Linked DNA regions of Homo sapiens: region 2 is linked to region 1. Evidence: promoter capture Hi-C in 16 types of primary human blood cells and fetal thymus (Javierre and others, 2016). All regions are on one chromosome and are shown on one strand. Each heading gives the region's core, a stretch centred on a gene start or on the middle of the fragment in contact. The rest is flanking DNA. Distances are from core to core; before and after follow the strand shown.

Evidence for each region. Contacts are between HindIII fragments. The CHiCAGO score rates a contact against its expected background, and 5 or more counts as called.
Region 2: a contact is called between a fragment that was not itself captured here and the fragment with the promoter of TAS2R38 in region 1, in 2 of 17 cell types (fetal thymus and total CD4 T cells). The highest score is 8.4, in fetal thymus.

Annotation. Positions count from the first base shown.
Region 1 is chr7:141,971,580-141,977,686 of GRCh38, forward strand. It overlaps TAS2R38 (taste 2 receptor member 38), which reads right to left and starts at 2,194. Exons shown (of 1, transcript NM_176817.5): 1 at 1,052-2,194. The coding sequence starts at 2,110. The coding sequence ends at 1,109. The HindIII fragment of the contact is 7,298 bases long and covers 1-4,291 here.
Region 2 is chr7:142,812,258-142,818,364 of GRCh38, forward strand. It overlaps LOC105375541 (a long non-coding RNA gene), which reads left to right and starts at 1,940. Exons shown (of 2, transcript XR_001745392.2): 1 at 1,940-3,868; 2 at 4,499-5,179. It also overlaps TRB and TRBV30. The HindIII fragment of the contact is 1,186 bases long and covers 2,317-3,502 here.

The sequences.
Region 1 (6,107 bases), core at 944-3,443:
GTTGCAAATTTTGTAGCCACTGCAGGTGAAGAAATGGCTAATTTTTGGAGGAAAACTGAGGTGAAGATCTGGATCTATTAAGACCAAGTGCCTGAGAGGAGGAAACAGTTCTCTGGCCCCACAGCTGGCAGAACTAAGAGCCTTGGTGGTGAGCTGCTACAACTGTGAAGCCTGTGAACCACGAAGCCTATCAAGATTTAAATGTCTGGTATACCTTGTTTTCTCCTGAGTCTTTCAGTACCTGATTTGAGGAAAGCCTTCCTGGCTGGGTTCCTGTGCAGGAATACAGACAATGCCAAATCTCTACAAATTTACCTTTCAGCTAGGTGATTTTGGTAGGGTCTCCAACCAGAGAGACCAATACTTGGTACCAGGCAAAGCACCATCTTCAAAGGCAAATTGGGCATAGCCAGAAAGCCCACACAGGGCACCTACTGGCATCCAGGTCACCTACTGAGCAAATATCTGCTTCTCTTCCATCATTATAGAGTAGGTAAAAGTGCATTTCTGGATCAGTGTATTTTCAGACAAAACGACCCCTATCCTCTCGTGCCTCTTGAAGTTGAAGTTATGTGGTACCTCTTGAAGCTGGAATTATGACATAATTATCATTCCAAGTTTGTCTTTGTTTCCATGAAAATTGCGAAGTTTGAAGAGGATTATATCCTTATTGTAGTAGTGAATATTTCCAAAAATGATGCTAGCACAAGTTCCGAGAAAGAGGTTTAACAGTCATGTTAAAAGCCAAACATATTATCTTGGGATTTAGATATTATTTCAGAAGAGATGATTTCTCATGGTTTGATTTATACCAATAATAAGCTATAGTATATAAAGGATTTACACCAAATACTTAATTATTTTGTTCATTTTATCAAAACAAACCTAGGGTACCAACATTATTCTTGCCTAGGCCATGTATAGTGCTTAATTATTTTATTCATCTATAAGTGAGTTCATTGATACAAAGTGGAGAGACTTTCAATTGTGTTTTATAGAAGAAATTGGAAGGCTTTGTGAGGAATCAGAGTTGTATTCCTGAAGAATCAGAGGCATATTTATGAAGACTCACAGGCGTATTAATGAAGAGCTCATTTCATGTCCATTCTCAGCACAGTGTCCGGGAATCTGCCTTGTGGTCGGCTCTTACCTTCAGGCTGCTCTGAGCCCAGAGCAGAATGGTCATCACAGCTCTCCTCAACTTGGCATTGCCTGAGATCAGGATGGCTGCATGCCCAGAGGGACAAGCTGCCATTATCCCAACACAAACCATCACCCCTATTTTGTCGCGCCACAGAATCAGTAGGGGCACAGAGATGAAGGCAGCACAGGATGATATCACAAAGAAGCAGAAAAAGGAGACAAGAGACTTGAGGGCTTTAATGTGGGCCTCCAGGCTGGGGTCACGAGAGTTTCTGGTATAGACCTTCATTGTCCTCATGTGCCTTCCCAGGGAGACAGTCAGCATCCCAGAAGAAACCAGAAACAATAGGAAAGGAGGCACAGACCACAGATAGCAGAAGAGAAAGGAATAAAATAAATTGAGATCTTTAATCTGCCAGTTGAGCCTTGTATTGTTATTCATGAATAGCACAGTTGTGACTGTGAAGTGAGGTCTGCTAAAAAAGCACCAAACACAGAGGACAGTGCAGATGCAGGAGCAAAGAATAATACCCAGGAGCATCTGGGAGATCTTCCTGGAGACCCAGCTTGCCAAGCAGATCAGGAAGGTGTGAGAGAAACGGATGAGCTTGGAGCAGTAAAGCAGGCTGAGGCAGGCAGCAAGCCAGAGGTTGGCTTGGTTTGCAATCATCCATAGCATGATGATGGCTTGGTAGCTGTGGTTCAGTGGTTCACTCAACTTCTGGAAGTGGGTAAGCTGGATAGCACTCAGGAACAGCAGTCCATGCAGGAAAAGCCGGCTGATGCTGAGACACAGCAGCACACAATCACTGTTGCTCAGTGCCTGCCTCTTCACTACATCCCAAAAATTCACCAAGAAAACGAAGGCATTGGTCAGAAACCCCACTGCAAACTCCAGGACTGAAATGAACAGAAATGTACTCCTGACTTCATAGGACACAGTGCGGATGCGAGTTAGAGTCAACATGATGTCACTTCTCTAATTGGCTATTCTACTTCTCTTCTCTAGTTGGCTAATCTAAAGACCTGGTTGCCACCCAGTGCAGAAAGGTAAATGTACGTTCCAAGCCAGGACCTTTCCTTCACAAAGCATCCAGCTCTTTGCCTAGATCTATCCCAAAGCGAGCGCATAAAAAGTTCTGGCAGGAAACTTAGAGGGATGTTGTTTCTCTAGAACATCTCTTGGATACACGTAAGAGCTTATCATAGGGTGGAAGACTGATGGTTCTACCTCTTGGGTGATGCAAGATTAATAAATCCAGGTGTTCCTGTACAACCGCCTTCCCAGAAGGCCATAGCACAGCATCACGGATGCAAACAAAACAGGGCCTCAATTTCCCCAATCCAGTTTTGCATGCCCATCTGGACCTGTGGGGGTGGCGAAGAGAACAGGATTTGCTTATGGGTTTTGAGGCACCCTGCAGCAGGCAAAGCAGATATTCTTGGTGATCTAAGGTTTGAAATAGAGTCTCTTTTCATTTGCATTCCTTCTCTCATCTGTGAAGTAATGACTCTTATCACAGACTGTGTTTTTAATATAGATAAATGCATGGTTCCTTTCCATGTGTCAGTGTATGATTGCAGTTTTATTTGCTGTTGCCAAAGGTTTCATGCAATCATCATTATTATGCCAGGCACTGTGCCTGGCAAGGAGAATATTAACATGAACAAGACTAGCACGCTGTCATGAAGGGAGAGGAAAGGGGGCATAGCTGGTTTGGATTATTATTATGTTTATTTTTTAATTAGTATAAGTTCTGGGGTACATGTGCAGAACATGCAGGCTTGTTACATAGGCATACACCTGCCATGGTGGTTCGCTGCACCCATCAACCCGTTATCTATATTAGGTATTTCTCCTAATGGTCTCCTTCCCCTTGCCCCCTACCCCCTGACAGGCCCTGGTGTTTGATGTTCCCCTCCCTGTGTCCATGTGTTCTCATTGTTCAACTGCCACTTATGAGTGAATTTCCCCCGATAAATCCTTTAAGAGTTATTGGTGCTGCCCCATTGGTGTTTTTCGATACTTTCTCTTTGTATTTTTTATGTTTTCTTTTGACTAAAGCTCCTTTTTTATTATTAGTAGTGACATAAGTCAGTGATTACTAAAGATGTTCACTTTTGTTTTATTCTGAACTGTTCATACGCAGATATTTATGTAGTCCTTATTTGTGCATCATGATGTAGCAGTTGTATTTAATTAATTGTGTTTGTGACCACTTCATTTGGGTCATTCATGCTTACAGAGTGTCAAACACAGAATTCTGCACTTTCAACTTAAGCTAATTTTCTCCTTGTCTTCACCACACCAGGTGGCGGTGTTGCACTAAAGGTGTTTAGAAAAGATGTTTGCCTCCCTAAAAAGTCTAGGTAGAAACTTGCTCTACTGCACAAGCAGAGATATATAACTATACAGTTAGAACCATTTATATCAAGATTATAATCTTTTATTAAAAAATAAAGTTCTTTATGTTATTTCTTGGAACACCAGATCCAATCTTAATTTTTCAATAATCAAGGGCTCTTTCAGAGAAAGGTAACACAAACCTTCATTGATACACCCCCTCCATTTGACTTATGTACACACAGTGTTTGGGATTATCTAAGTAATCTCCTTTGCAGATAGTCCTTAGCTATTGGCTATTTTTTGAAAAATGGTTTACTCAGGAAGCTAAAAACAGTAAAGTCAACTGCAATGCCAGTAAGAGCAGTGGTAGGAACACAAAAGCTCCTTATTTGTTATTAGTAGTGATATAAGTCAGTGACTACATCTTTATCAGATGTAATTAAAAAAATCTTAGTCCCTGGATTTTGCAACTAAACAGATGTTAAAAATTCTTAACCTATATAAATTGGTGTTTCGACTTTTGCTGCCATTTATTTTTGGAGATTGGAATTACATTCTTTGGATTGATTTTTAAAAATTGGTCTTTGTTAGCTTGACAGAAGAACACTATTATTAGTAATATCAAACCTCATTCCCTTAAAATACCTTGCTTAGATGTTTCCAATGACTAGAGAAATGGACATACCAATATATGTTTATTAAGAGCAAAATATATTCCACCTGTTGTAATGGGCATTGAGGACACACTGGTAAACAAAGGCGTATTAGAGGAACTGAAAGAGCACAGCCTTAAAGCCATAAAGCTTAAAGTAAGCCATACCTTACTTTAGAGGAAAAACACCACTAGATGACTTCAGATAGCGGAGTGAACTGAAAGAAACAATGTTGGGGGAGAGACAACGGACAGGAAACATACAATTGGGGTAGTGTCAATAGGAAACACTGGCAGTGGCCATCATCAACAGCACTCAAAACAGATGAAATGGCACCCAGGAAGTCGATGAGGCAGGAAGGAGCTCGGTGCTTTCACGGGGAGAGGGGAGGCCCGCGTGGCTGGCTTGTAGCCACAGGTGAGGCTGGAGGGCGACTTCTTCCACTACCGTGTGATTACAATATAAAGTAACTAGTGATTGGCTATCTCCCATTCTTCCCCCGTGATTGGCTATCTCCTGTTCTCCCCCTGCCGGAATTCCTAGGACAGCGAGACAGGTGGGAAACAACAGACCTAGGAGGAGTCTCTGCACCTCCAATCTCCCCAAATAATCGGGCAAAGCAATGGACTCCAGCTTTTCCAGGAAGCTCCAGCTCCCCAGCAACCGAGTCCTCCCCCATCGCTATTTAACAGCTCCCACCAGGTGGCGCCAGAACACTGCGAGGCCTGGAATTCCTGGCAGGCTCGCAGTGCATCCTCACCTCAGCCGTTTAAATCTAGCAATAATGGGGTTCCGTATCTCACGCAACTGAAATTTTAGACTCCACTTACTGCGTTATGATAGGCTGAATTTCCTTGAATCTCACAGTTGCCCTGCGAAGAATGTAGTGATATTTCCATTGTACTGATGAGAAAGTGGTTTCAGGAAAGTTAAATAGTTAAATATCTTGGCCAAGGTAAGTAACCTAGTGAGCAGCTGGGATTCCAACCGCAGGTATTCTGATTTCACCTTTGGCGTTTCTTCCTCTGAGCCTAACTCCCAATCTAGAGTACGGGCTGGAGGAGATACCCTTGCTTTGATAAGACACCTGGTAACATTTTTTTTTTTCCCCAACCTCAGCCCTATCTGAGCTTTTTTCTTACTCTTTTTTTCTTTTTTTTTTGCGTGGGCAGGGGGAGTGCAGTTGCCCTTGTGGACTCCCTCAAGATGATAGCTCATTCCATTCCCAGGAGATAGAGAAAAATTGAGTCTGGATAGGTTTATATCTCAGGAGGCCACTGTTCTGGTAAGGGAAAGGAATGGGGAAAATTTCGCTAGGCTCGTTGAAAGAACGTGTCGATGTATGCAACAGGTTAACATAGCTATTCATAAGTTAGAGCCCTAGAGCATAAAAGGAAATTCTTCAGAATTTTTCAGGTGGATCTGGGATGATGTCTTCCTTTACTCCCTTCCTACAGGCTTCCTATATCTTCTTTGCTTCCATTATACTTTGTTCACAGCACTATTGTAGCACTTACCATATGTATTAAAATATGTATTTGTGGCTGGGCGCGGTGGCTCACGCCTGTAATCCCAGCATTTTGGGAGGCCGAGGTGGGCGAATCACGAGGTCAGGAGATTGAGACCATCCTGGCTAACATGGTGAAACCCTGTCTCTACTAAAAATACAAAAAAATTAGCCGGGCGTGGTGGTGGGCACCTGTAGTCCCAGCTACTTGGGAGGCTGAGGCAGGAGAATGGTGTGAACCCGGGAGGAAGAGCTTGCAGTAAGCCAAGATTGCCCCCCTGCACTGCAGCCTGGGAGACAGAGTGAGACTCCGCCTCAAAAAAAAAGTATTTGTTTACATGGGTATCCTCAATTATATTGAGTTCTTCAAGAGTAGGGATTATGTATTGTTCTTTTTTTTTACTCCTTATTGTATATGACAAGTAATTAGATTTTTGTTGGTTTATTTGGCCATTCA
Region 2 (6,107 bases), core at 1,660-4,159, 840 kb after region 1:
AGACTAGAAAATCAGGCAAGGTATAGCACACCTTGAGGGCTGGAGTATGGTAGCCTGGGCCGGGACATCCATACATTGAGAACTTGACTATGTGCAGGCAAATCACAGGTTCTGCACACATACAATTTTTTGTTCTCCCTGAGAACTTAGTAGAGTCTTTTGTAGAATTCTCGCTTTATTCCATTGCTTTCACATTGGCCAGCAGTCAGAAACCTACTTACAAATATCCTCCACCCAGTCCCTAAGTGAAGGCCCCTGGGGAGTATGGTTAGGGCTCAGGAGAGGGTGGGGTTTTTGCACAGATGTCTGCCCCACCCAGCTCAGTGTGACACTCCAGGCACAGAGATAGAAGCCAGAGTCACTGAGAAGGAGCTTCTTAGAACTCAGGATGAACTGCCGGTCCTGGGGTCTGGAGGCTGAGAGATTCTGGGGCACCTCAGAGCTGATCTGGCCAATACCAACGGAGTAGAAGAGCAGCTGGAGGCCCCTGCCTGCAGCCTGTCGGTACCAGTATAGGTTGGGGTTTGATGTTCCCTCCACAGTGCACTCCAGAGAGAGCGGGCTGCCCACAGGCTGCACCAGGGTCGCTGGCCATTGATGAATAGTCTGAGATCTGACCCCTGTGGGAAAGATAAAGTGCCATTTACAGAGGAGCACCCCAGCCTGGCTTGCCTTCCCCAGACAGAGGGGCAGCTCAAGCTCTTGCATGACACAGGCACCTGGAATCCATCATGGGGAGTAGACTGGGGGAGCCAAGGATGCAAAGCATCCCTGGGCCAGGGAAGACCAACAGAACGAACTCCTTCTCAGGAGATAGAGAGAACTAAGAATCATCAGATCAGCCCCTAAGGCTAAATTCCCATATCTGTTCCAGACAATCAGGAATAGACTCAAGAGTGTCAAACCAACAGCTCAGACTCTGCATTCACGGGATTGGGGTGAGGGTGAGGATGAGAAAAGAGGCTTGCCAGAGAGGAGGGCACCCACCAAAGAAAGTGCCCAGGAGAAGGGCAAGGAGAGAGCAGAGCATCATCCAAGCCAGCCTTTCCTTCAGCTAGTCTGGGGGACAGACGCCTCCTCTTCTGGGCCAGTGATGTGGTCAGGCTGCTCCCTCTGGGAGATCTGCTGCCAGAGCAGAGGAATCCTACCCCATGAGCTGGGGAGGAAATGAGGCTAGTCTTCTTTTAAGAGTGTGGTGAATCACCCCCAGCCTCCCTGGGAACCAGCTATACTCTGCACTTGTTATCTTCTTTGCATTCCTGCTGACATCCTGGTATGTAAATATATTTAATGACTCATTATTTACCTGTAAACTAAAGGTAACTCTCCAGCTCCCCCGGGAGACATCAGAAGCCTGGGAAAGCTTCAGAGAAACTGTGATACTGATAGAAGGATGAAAAAAGATTTTAGTTTATCTGAAATTGGAAACTAGAGCTAGACATGTTACCTGGGAGATGAAAGGATAGGGCTCAAGAGATTCAGGTATTTTGGGGTAATCAAAGCAGAAATGCTCAGTTCTGAGGGCAGGAAGCTTCTATGACAGCCAAAGGGATCGCCTGCATAATCTTCATCCCTGGCAGACAGATTTTGAGACCTGGACAGGCATAATTAACTCCTGAACTGATCAAAGTTGGAATCTGCTCCATGTGTCTCTAATGGGCCAACTAGATCTAATTTATCCTCTAAATGCAATATGAGTAATAGGAAACATCACAGAGACTTGGAATCATATGGATTTGGGTTCATTTCACAGCTCTGCTTCTTGCTGGCTTGGGAACTCTCAAGCAAACCCTGATTCTCAATTTTCTTATCTATAAAGTGAAAATAATGATGACAATATCTAAAAATTGTTGAAAGATGCATTTTGCCTGGTGCACTGCAGGCAGGCACTCTTACATATGTTGGCTTTTTTTTTTTTTTTTTTTTTTTTTTTTTTTTGACTCCCTATGTCTGCAGCAAAGATTGGGAGATTTACAATGGCATGGGGTGGAAGGTAGGGGCTGAAGGGATCACGAGCCACAAAAAACACAGTCAAGCCACGAATTCATAATAGTAAGGATTCATAATAGCTAAGCATGGGACTCTGCTAGGTAGCTGCTAAAATGTCATTCTGCTGAAATGGGACAAAAGACCTTCAGATGCCTGGAGGACACCAGCACACCCTTGGAAACTCCTCTTCCCTCTGTCTTTGCCATGCTCTGTATTCTGAAGGATTCATATTCAGAACAATTACTTAGTTTGGGTTGGATGTGGTGGAGCGGTTTGAGATGAAAACCCAGGAAAGAAAGCCGTAAAAGTGGCTGAACAGGGAGAATAAGCTTTAAGCAAATAAAGCATTTGTAACACTTTCCCATTTCATCAGGGCCTAGTGATGTCATATGTTTGTTGTTGTTGCTGATGCTACAGTAACACAATTCCAAGTTAATGTTGGGGTTCTTGCTTCTGACAGTTTTGGCTGTAGCACATTTTTTTGTTTGCATTTGAATACACCATATGTATAGGGGAATGTTTTGTTTTTTATCATTTCAAAATGGAATTAATCCTCTTATAACATTTATTTAAATGATAAATCAAGTGGTAAATATAGTTTGCTTGCAGTGAACATTTGGAACATATGATGAAAAATAGCTATAGCCAACGCAAGAGCAGTTTTCATTGAACAGTTGTTCAATCTCAGTTTTTAATAAATCTGATAATATAATATCTGTGCATGTTAGGATTGCAGAGAGTGAAGCCAAAATAAATATGTGCACACATAGCCTATTCCTCCCTTTCTTTCCATTTCTGTTCTCTTTCCTCTTTGCTTTTGAAATTTTTATTTAGTCCTGAGTGGGGATGGGGTGGAGAGAAAGTGGACAGTGGGTGGTGGGAGATACAGGGAGAAAGAATGAGAATTGCTCTTGTTCTCAAGGGTACCGCATCACGTTTTCCTCTGGCTGGCAGTCTTTAACACCAGCGTATCCTATGAGACCTGACTTCACTCATCAGCTGCATCAGCTCAGTGTCATTACCACATGTAGACAGCAATGTAATCCTCCTTCTTAGAGATGCTGCAGCAGATTGGAGGGTGAAGAGATGTATCAGTCAGATCAGAGTAACCAGCTGGCTCCTGGCTCCTGATCATTGTCACAGCTCAGTAGCTGGAAGCTCCTTCCATATGGCTGATGCCTTTAAAAAAATCTCCTCAATCTCCATCCCCATCTGCAATACTGTTTAGTTATTCAATCATTTAAGTCATTCATGTATTGAAAAGAGGATGGGGATATGATCCCTCTGCTCTGTGGCAGTAGATCTACTAATGGGAGAGTCCTGGCCGCACATCTGGCCTGGGTCTGGAGGTGCCCTACGGAATTGAAAGCTGGCTGGAACTGTCATCTTAACATGTCCTGGTCATCTTAACGTGTCCACCTCTCTGGCAAGCCTCTTTTCAAGTCTTTTTGTTACCATCTTCAGCTTTTTCCCTCCATACTAGATTCTTAATGAATTGCTGCCAACAAGAGAAAGCTTTATACATGAAGAGAATGGCAATAAGAACTAACTCGTCTTTTTAATTTTAAAACTGGTATATATTCCTATATAATAGGAATGGAAGATACTTGCAAAGCCTATTTGTTCCTCTACAGAAGAGTTAAAAATTACCTGGGCTAATGGAAAGAAGGGAGAGTCAGCCAATTAGATGCTCCTGAATGCCCTGAATTGTGACTTACCTCTTCTTATCCACATCCTGATCAAGGAAAGGGATGAGAGAGAGGTGGAGAGAGAAGAAATGGAAATTCAAAAGTTTTGACGGCAGAGGAAAATTGTGCTTATTTCCAGAATGAGACGAACAAGGTCCTGGGTCCCTACATGTCATACTGGCTAGAGACTGGTAAGTAGAAATGACTTGTGGTCAGCAGAATAATGGCTCCCAAGGATGTCCACATTCTAATCCCCAGAATCTGTGCATGTGTTAGATTACATGGCAAAGGGGAATTAAGGTTGAAGATGGAATTAAGGTTTCTAATTGGATGCCCTTAGAACAGGGAGAGTAGTCAGAATTAATCAGGTGTGCCCCATACAATCACAAGCATCTTCAACATGGAAGAAGGAAGCAGAAGAGAGTCAAAGAAAGAGATGTGGACATGGAAGCAGGCAAGAGAGATGCCATGCTGCTGGCCCTGGAGGTAGAAGGGGGCATGAGCTAAGGAATGAAGGTGGCCTCTAGAAGCTAGGAAAGGTAAGGAAATGGGTTCTCTTCTAGAGCCCTCAGGGAAGAATGCAGCCTAGCTGACAGCTTGATTTTAACTCGGTGAAACCTGTGTCAGACTTCAGAGTTACAGAACTGTAAGATAATAAGTTTGTGTTGTTTTAAGCCACTAAGTCTGTAGTAATTTATTAGAGCAGCAGTGGAAAACATACATGGCTCTAGAATGTGTCTTAACAGAGGGACCTGAGGTAGTCTCCAAGAATCCCCAAAGATCTCAGGATAGATCAGGAATAGCCATTTTCTCATTCACAGGGAAACAGATTAACTGAGAGAAGCCATCAAGCCTGAAGAGACATCGTGTTTGAAATGTGTAAGGCACAGTGTACCCGCCGTGGATCAAAACAACCTGAAGGACAGACAGACAGACACACCGAGGATCAGCAGATATCAGTGGGGACAGGTGCTGATGATGGTGCAAATGAGAGTCATGAAGGAAAGTTAAATGATGACCAAAGACCAAGTACCTTCCCCACAATGCTTTGACAAGCGCTTTTATAAGCACCCTGGAATTTAGACACTACCCGGGGAGAAAAGGAAAGGGAGACAAGCATGAATTGTCTGAGAAACCCCTGAATTAATCATGTGTACCCCAATGCAACAAGGATCTAGATATAGAATAATTTTAATTATAGAAAACAAAATTATATTTTACCCACCCATATTTGATGCCCATGAATTTCACATCTACCTTACGTGCACATAAAATTCAAGCTTAGATAGACGGAAAACAAAAAATCAAGAAGCAATATTTGCCTTCTAATAACTTATCTATTGGAGGAGGTAAAAGATAGAAAAGTAGTTCAGATGACAAATACTAAAAGAGTTAGGAACTTCTGCTTCCACTTACGATGAAGGAACTTGTACTCAATCCATCCACTTTGTAATTCTCCTTGAGCTGCTGTAATAAAGTACCACAAACTGGGTGACTTAAAACAACAGAATTTATTGTCTCATGGTTCTGGAGCCTAGAAGTCTAAAATCAAGGTATCAACAGAGCTATGCTTCCTCTGAAACCTGGAAGGAAATTCTTCCTTGCCTATTCCTAGCTTCTGTTGATTTGCTGGCAAATTTTGACATTCCTTAACTTGCAGCTACATAACTTTAAACTCTGCCTTTGGCATTACATGGCATTTTCCCTGTGTGTTTCTGTCTTCCCACGGCTGTCTTCTTACAAGTACATCAGTCATATTAGGAGTCCACAGTGCTCCAGTATGACCTCATCTTAACTAGTCACACTTGCAATGACCCTATTTTCAAACAGAGTCACATTCTGAGGTACTGAGGGTTGGGATGTCAACATATCTTTTTCTGGGGGGATGGTGGGTATAATTCAATCCATTATACCCTCCAATAATAAACACCTAGAAAACTGGGCAATATACGTGAGATAATTGTTTTCTAATATTGGACAAGAGATGGCACAAAACTGTGATCCATAAGTGAAAGGAGACAAATGAGGTGCGTGCTGTGATCATTTCCGTTTTCTACCCAGAATTTCCTGGGTTACTGTACAAACAAGAGGGACCCAAGCAGAGCATGGCACCCTGAAATTCTTACTGAGCTGAGGACACAGCTCAGAGAAGAGGAGGCCATGCACGGAAAGAGCCCCGCAATTTTCATGAGGTCTCATTGAGTCTTTGGGTAAATACTAAGCTGGCATCCATTGGGTGAAACTCCACAGGGGCAGGCAAAGAATAAGTACTGGAGAATTAACAACTGCTGGTGAACTACAGTATGAATAATTACTAGATCTTGGTCGAGGCTGAGAGAGATACAGCTCTGAGCCATCAGAATAGCTTTGTTGAATACCTGGAACATTGAACAGGTATCCCAGGAAGCCCATAACTTAGAGTAGGACTCA